Regions from separate parts of the Homo sapiens genome. Here region 2 is linked to region 1. Evidence: promoter capture Hi-C in human tissues and cell types (Jung and others, 2019). All regions are on one chromosome and are shown on one strand. The core of a region is centred on a gene start or on the middle of the fragment in contact, and the rest is flanking DNA. Distances in the headings are between cores, read along the strand shown.

The links. The method cuts DNA at HindIII sites, captures the fragments that hold promoters and counts their contacts. A contact is called where the count stands out against the background at its distance.
Region 2: a fragment that was not itself captured here is called in contact with the fragment with the promoter of PEX26 in region 1 in 3 of the 25 tissues and cell types used here (dorsolateral prefrontal cortex, lymphoblastoid cells and spleen).

The regions. Positions count from the first base shown.
Region 1 is chr22:18,075,891-18,079,311 of GRCh38, forward strand. It overlaps PEX26 (peroxisomal biogenesis factor 26), which reads left to right and starts at 2,100. Exons shown (of 5, transcript NM_001127649.3): 1 at 2,100-2,716. The coding sequence starts at 2,487. LOC105372853 (a long non-coding RNA gene) reads left to right here. Exons shown (of 6, transcript XR_001755424.2): 6 at 1,768-2,006. RefSeq lists enhancers at 1,774-1,833, 2,164-2,393, 2,874-2,923 and a silencer at 2,464-2,513. The HindIII fragment of the contact is 17,547 bases long and covers 1-3,421 here.
Region 2 is chr22:17,819,874-17,823,514 of GRCh38, forward strand. MICAL3 (microtubule associated monooxygenase, calponin and LIM domain containing 3) reads right to left here. Exons shown (of 32, transcript NM_015241.3): 23 at 3,074-3,187; 24 at 2,157-2,297; 25 at 1,554-1,636. Among named protein-coding and RNA genes, the nearest start is that of LINC00528, 44 kb to the left of the region's middle. The HindIII fragment of the contact is 4,286 bases long and covers 1-3,641 here.

The sequences.
Region 1 (3,421 bases), core at 850-3,349:
AATGAATTCGCTTCTGTTTAGGATTTCTGTGTCTTCGCTTGAGAAAGTCTAAGTACTTGTAGACATAGAGGAGATGATGTGTCCCACTGGATGTGTGTTGAGGAATCCATTTGTGGGCATAATAGTGCTAAACAGTGGTTACATACGGACTGATATGAAGCCCGGGAATAGTTGAAAATTGGGTGAATCAGAAATGGAATACAATCATATTTTTATATGGTTTCTAGCTCTCCTCTCTCCTGCCTTAAATATCTTGACCTCATTCTGGCTGTCTCACTACTAAATAGGCAAATTTACTTTTAGCAAGGCTGCTTCTGTTAAGACTGTGCCTCCATCTCCTGGACAAATTTGGAATAGCAAGAAATTTGTTAGGAAAGGGACTTTTCCAGGCAGCAGCCGCTTAGAGCTGGCCGCTTCTGAGCATGTTCGTCTTCCCAGGCCTGGCTCACATTTTCAGTGCTTAATGCGCATGGCGCTTTATGCGCAATATTACTTAATTCTTCCCTCAGCCATTGGGAGCTAAGGACAAACTGTTATCCCAATTTTACAGGTGAGGAAATCAGAGCTTATTTAAATAAATTGCCGAGGTCACACAACTAGTAAGCGACAAAATCTCAGTCAAACCGAGGCTCTTTTGGTTCAAAGATGTGTATTGAGCTCTACTCTGCTCTGCAGGGACAGAACTAAGTATGTTTGCTATTCAGGGGATACACAGTCATTCCATGAGCAAGTTACACAATGTAAAATAAGGACATTGTGAAAAACAAAACCATACCGTACATAATGCACTTTATAGTAAAGTACTGGGAACAGAGTATTTGGTAAATTGTAACTATAATAATAATTTTAAACAGATCCACAAATCACACTTATTATTATATTCTGTTTCACCCGGGCTTTGCCAAGCTTCCCACATTTGTACTAGATCCTCTTGGCTTTAGTTTCTCCCCAGTTCTCTACCCTTTGAATTCACTCCAAAGCTTCCCTAGAATCTTTGCTCTCCTAGAAATTAGATTAAACAGGCACCTGCTCACATCATACATCCCCTGCCCTTGTCACCAGACATGCACACATCCATCTTCTGGGATTTCCGTTCTCTTGCAGAAAAGTCTGCATGGGAAGCTGAGGCAGAACCAAGTCCACCAGACTCCGAGGAAAGAGAAGTCTGGACCCTGTAACCAGATAAAAGTGAAACCAGGACTTCATTTATTCCACAAATACTTTTTGACTACCTATAGATGACAGGCACTGTTCAAGGCATTGAGGTTCCCACAGTGAACAAAAGAGACAAAAACGTCTGCCTTTGTGAGTTTATATCATAGTGGAAGGAAATAGACAATAAAAATAAGTAAAATATAGACATTGGTATGTAGATGGTGATAAATGATAAGGAGAAATATAAAGACAGATCGGAAGTGACAACAGTGGGGAAGTGGAATTGGTATCTGCATTTAACGTTGTTTTTTAACAGCAAATTCAGGATGGGGCAGAGAGCAGTGAGAAAAATGAGGCCCTTATGCTCAGCGCCCCCAACCCCGCCTCGGTGGGGTCACTATTCATTTTGGAACATTGCCCTTGGGACCAACATATTCTCAGTGGTCCTTGTGAAGGTTTCCACCCTAAGTCCCTCATCCTCACCAGGCAATATTCATTACCCTACAGCAAACTCCGGAGGCAACGCGGAGAAAGTGTGAATCAATTCAAGACTAAGGTTGCCAAAATGTTTGATCAGCTCTGCGTCAGCCTTGACATTACATTACATTACAGATCCCCTGATCGCCACCGTCGCAGAAGCTCTGAATTAAAAGCGTGCATGTAGCTGCACATCCATTGCTGGCACTTCTTCCGTTAGCCTCCGCTGGAACTGGTTAGTGAGGACCCCTCCATTTCACAAGACAGCTTCGGTTTTGCTTCGTTTTGACTTCCGCACCCCGAAGCTGTAGCACCAGTTTGTTTTCTCACGGCACAGGGGCGGCTTCCGGGGCGCGGCGTGCTGGGGGTTGTAGTCCGCGCTCTGCCTCCTACTTCCATTACAGAAGGCGATGGGCCGAGAGCTGAGGAACTACAACTCCTAGAGTACTCCGCGCCGCCGGGACGCCGCGCGGCTGCGGGGCTGGGCGAGCGCAAAGATGTCCGCGCCCGCTGCCGGGAGGCGAGGTGAGTCTTTGATCGTAACCAGGAGCCCGGAGCTGAGGCAGTTCCTGCACGTGTCGCGGGGCCGGAGAAGCTAGGGCCAGGTATTCCAGGGATGCAAGAATCCTGCAAATCTGACGTGTAAACTGCTTCCCCAGCCTCCAGGCGAGCCCAGCTTTTGCCTCAGATAGGCCCCTTCCTTTTCCTTCTCGGGGAATCGACCTCGGGAAGGGGTGTGGGCAAAGAGATGAGGACTCTCCCTCTTCGCCCAGGCCAACTCGGGATATCCCGGAGCCTCTGGGGAGGCGGTCACTCCGACGTCTGAGGACCTGGGCCTTGGACCCGGACTCGTTATGAAGAGCGATTCTTCGACCTCTGCAGCCCCCCTCAGGGGGCTCGGGGGACCCCTGCGCAGCAGCGAGCCGGTGCGCGCGGTCCCGGCCCGGGCGCCGGCCGTGGACCTTCTGGAGGAGGCGGCCGACCTCCTGGTGGTGCACCTGGACTTCCGGGCGGCGCTGGAGACCTGCGAGCGGGCCTGGCAGAGTCTGGCCAACCACGCCGTGGCAGAGGAACCCGCGGGCACGTACGTGCTGGGCTCGGAAATGAACCGATTTCCGGGCGCTCTTGTGGTGGGGCTCAAGGTCTCAGGAGTTCTGTCCTTCCCAGATTGCCCACAAGGAGCTTTACACCTCGCTTTCATCAGTGGTTTGTCTCCGAGAGGGTGGTCGCTCATCGTGTGCCCATTCTACAGAGAAGGGAAGTCGTGTAACAAAAACTTAGTGGGGATCCCACAGCCAATTATTTGCTCCTTGTTCCAAGGTACAATGACATGATGGGAAGGCTGAATGTGTATTAAGTGCTAAGTTCTGTCAGTAAGCAGGTGGTAAAAGTCCTCTCCCAGGTACCTCCGCCCTCCCCGCCCCGCCCAAGGTTGTTTATTCCTGACCTTGGCTGATGATGGGGAATGGGGGTCATGGCAGGAGCAGCGTTCTGGTCCAATTAGAGGACTGGATTAAAGAATTAATTCAGGGCCGGGAGCTGGGGCTTACGCCTGTAATCCCAGCACTTTGGGAGGCCGAGGCAGGAGGATTGCTTGAGCCCAGGAGTTCGAGACCAGCCTGGGTAACATAATGAGCCCTCTTCTCTACCAAAAAGAAGAAAAAGAAAAGAATCCGGAGAAAAAAACCTTGGGCTTGCATTGCTCTTTCTAATGCCACCAGCCTCGTCTGGCAGGTGAGGGAGTCATTTCTTTGCATTGTAAACTTGGGTTAGGCCACGCTAGGGAGGT
Region 2 (3,641 bases), core at 287-2,786, 260 kb before region 1:
TGGAGCTTGCAGTGAGCCAAGATCGCGCCACTGCATCCTAGCCTGGGTGACAGTGAGAGACTCCATCTCAAAAAAAAAAAAAAAAAAAAAAAAAAAATCCAATCAGTGAACAGGCTAGGTACAGTGGCTCATGCTGTAATCCCAGCACTTTGGGAGGCTGAGGCAGGAGGATTGCTTGAGCCGAGGAGTTGGGAGGCTGCAGTGAGCCATGATCATGCCACTGCACTATTGCCCATGCCAGTCTGGGCAAGAGACTGAGACCCTGTCTCAAAAAAAAAAAAAAAAATCACTGAATAGTTCCATGCTTCCTAGAATCCCAAAGACTAAATCAAGCAGATGCAGGCCTTATATTCCAGCTTTCTCCCTGATCTGACCTGCAGACAGTATTTCCCAAACCATGTTCCACAGGACCTGCTGTCACAGTTGGCTTTGCAGCATTCTCCATGTGGTTCACACACCACAGGCTGTCTGCATGGACGCTGTAAATTTCTTTTTTTTTGAGACGGAGTCTCGCTCTGTCGCCCAGGCTGGAGTGCAGTGGTGCCATCTCGGCTCACTGCAAGCTCCGCCTTCCGGGTTCATGCCATTCTCCTGCCTCAGCCTCCTGAGTAGCTGGGACTACAGGCGCCCGCCACCACGCCCGGCTAATTTTTTGTATTGTTAGTAGAGACAGGCTATCACTGTGTTAACCAGGATGGTCTCGATCTCCTGACCTCGTGATCTGCCTGCCTTGGCCTCCCAAAGTGCTGGGATTACAGGCGTGAGCCACCGCGCCTGGCCAGATGTTGTAAATTTCAATGGTTATACATTTATTTTAACATAATGTTAAAAATGCATTTGTCATATCAAACCAACCATCCCATCGATATTATTGCTTTAATTTAAACAAATTTATTTTTAATAAAATATCAAATGTTTTATACCATTTATCATAAAAATTATATTATTTTTAATATATTATAAATTTATAAAAAATAAATTTGTTCTAATAAATTTTAATAAATTTATATTTATAAACATAAATTTTAATAAATTTATATTTATAAACATAAATTTTAATAAATTTATGTTTATAAACATAAATTTTAATAAATTTATATTTATAAACATAAATTTTAATAAATTTATATTTATAAACAATTTTAATACACCTATGTTTATTATACATTTATTAAATATAATAAATTATTTATTTTTAATAAATTTGTTTAAATTAAACATATGGTGTGTGGTATGTGGACCTAACACAGTGACACGGGGTAGAGGACTCAGGTTTGGGATCAGAGTGGGGCAGAGGTAGTAGGTGCCACCCAGACGGCCTCATCCCCAAGAGTACTGAGCTGGAACTCCAAGGCCACTCCTGTCATCAACAGCTCCACTTAGTACAAGGAGGATGATAGTTTTCAGTCTTCCTCAGAATGAGGAGGCCAGCAGGCTATGTTAGCCCCAGTCTTGGTGGGACCCACACCATGGGCCCTGAAACAGAGAAGTTAATATGTGTCCTTGGGGTCCCATTAGTTCTCTGTACCCCACAGCGAGCCCCAAACCCTTACCTCTGTTGAGGGGCTGTGGACTGGAATGAACAGAAGAGCTGATTCCTGGGGAGACCGGATGGGGCTGGTGGCTTGGGAGGGACCTGAAAAGAATGAACACAGGGACTTACAAGAGGAAGCCCCCCCATGTGCCAGGAAGGCACCCCTATCAGCCAGCCCCAGAGGGTGGAGGGGAGGGTAGAGGGCGAGTCGCTGAGTCGGCTCCCAGTTCTCCTGGAAAGCACAGGTTCTCTCAGAGGCCAGGGTCCTGGAACCGTCTTCCCGGGGCTGCCCGGCACTCTCTGCAGGTGCTCCTGTCAACACCAGGTCAGGCCGTGGGCTTCCTCCATGTGCAGACTCTGCACACAGAGCTTCAGGACAAACCTTCTACCTTCTCCCAGACCCAAACTATGCAAGGAAAGGGCCTTTGGCCAAAGCAACTGCAGCAGCCTGTGGCACAGGGAGGGTGGACAGAGGAGGAAAAGGCAAGGAGCTGCCCACACCTCGGAGGCTGGTGTGCACCATGGCTCTGCTCTGAAGCGCCTGGCCCCTGAGCCACTCTTGTGTGCATATGGCCCTCGTAGGAATTCTGAAAGTTGTTTCTCCCATCAAAGACAGGCTCACCTCTCTCTTGGTGCTTCGGTGAGGCGGGCAGCTTCTCCTCATCTTCCGACACCCTCAGCTCCAGCTCTGCTTCCCCCTCAGCTGGGCACGGCAAACGCAGCTCTCTGTCAGCATCCGACGGGCTGTCAGACCAGTGCTGATCTGGCAGAGGGAAGGGGCAGAAGTGGGTGCACACCCTAAGTGAGGCCAACTCCTTTTCCACCTGAGAGCAGCCGCGCCACTTGCTCATTTGCAACACAGCTGCTCAGGTGCAGGCCTGGAGGCCCTTCTTACGCAGGGACAGACCTGCCTACCAGACCACCCCCGCTCCTGAGGGGCCCGGCCAAGAGCACCCTCCTGCCTTTGCAACGCGGGGCCGCATCAAAGCCTGTGGGGCTCTGTTTCTTTTAAAATACAGCAACAGTCACACATGATGGGCTGCGACAGACAAAGACAGGGTGTGCCTGTGGAGGGCAGGCCTGGCCTCACGGGCCCACTTCTATGCACCTCCTCCTCTCAGTAGCCCTGACTGCCACCCCAACTCCACAGCTGAGGCCTGCGCCCCCTCGCAAGCTTGGGTTCTTCTCATTCTTCCCAGCCTCGTCCCTGACCCCCTCAGCCCCCCACAACCAGACTGCGATGCAGAACCCATCTCCAGGTATGTAGCTTTGGGAGCCAGTCAGCAGAATTAAAGGCCTTGTATAAAGCCACAGGTTGGCTCAGGCACCCAGCTGCAGCTGGATGACTGCAGGCCAAGTCGCCTGGTGCTCGTGGGTAGGTGGTGGTTGGGTGGAATGAGATGCATTCCAGCCATGGTGGAGCCAAGAAGGAACCAGGAGGCCCAACGGCGGCCTCACTGAGCTTGATTTTGCTGGAAAGCATATTGCCTTCATCTTCCCTGAGCTCCCACCACAGGGGCGGGGAGGGCGGACCCCTACCATCATCCAGCTCAGCACCAGTGTCCCCTGGGTCCCCATCCTCTGCTGCCTCCCCTTCTATCTCGGCTGGTTCTGAGTCCACATCTTCCTCTAGGTCATTCTCATCCAATGGGGCTGCAAAGCAGAAAGGTTCAAAGGAAGGAAGAAAAGGAGGACAGACAGACAGGCTGCATCTTCACGGGGGCGAGAGGTACTGCCTTTCTCAGGGCGCTGCCATGCAGGCCCCAGGAGAGGGGAGATGCTGCCAGGCCCAGGGGGCTCTCCACACGTAGCATGGGTGCTGGGGGGGGCCCGGGGCCCCCAAACACAGGAGGTGGGCATTTCTCAATGCTAGGGGCCAAGTGGGAAGAGAAGAGCGGCTGAAGGTGGGGGCATTGTTCCTCTTCCCCCAAAGGTTGCTGTAGGAACCTCAGTTGGAGGAGGGTGGAAAGGGAAATGCTGTTTCTCTGGGCCTTGGCCCAGCAGCATCTGCCAAAGCCTGGCTGTGTGCTGACCGCCTCACACACCATGGGTCATTCAGCCCTCATAATGCAGGCTGAGCATCCTGAATCTGAAAATCCAAGATCCA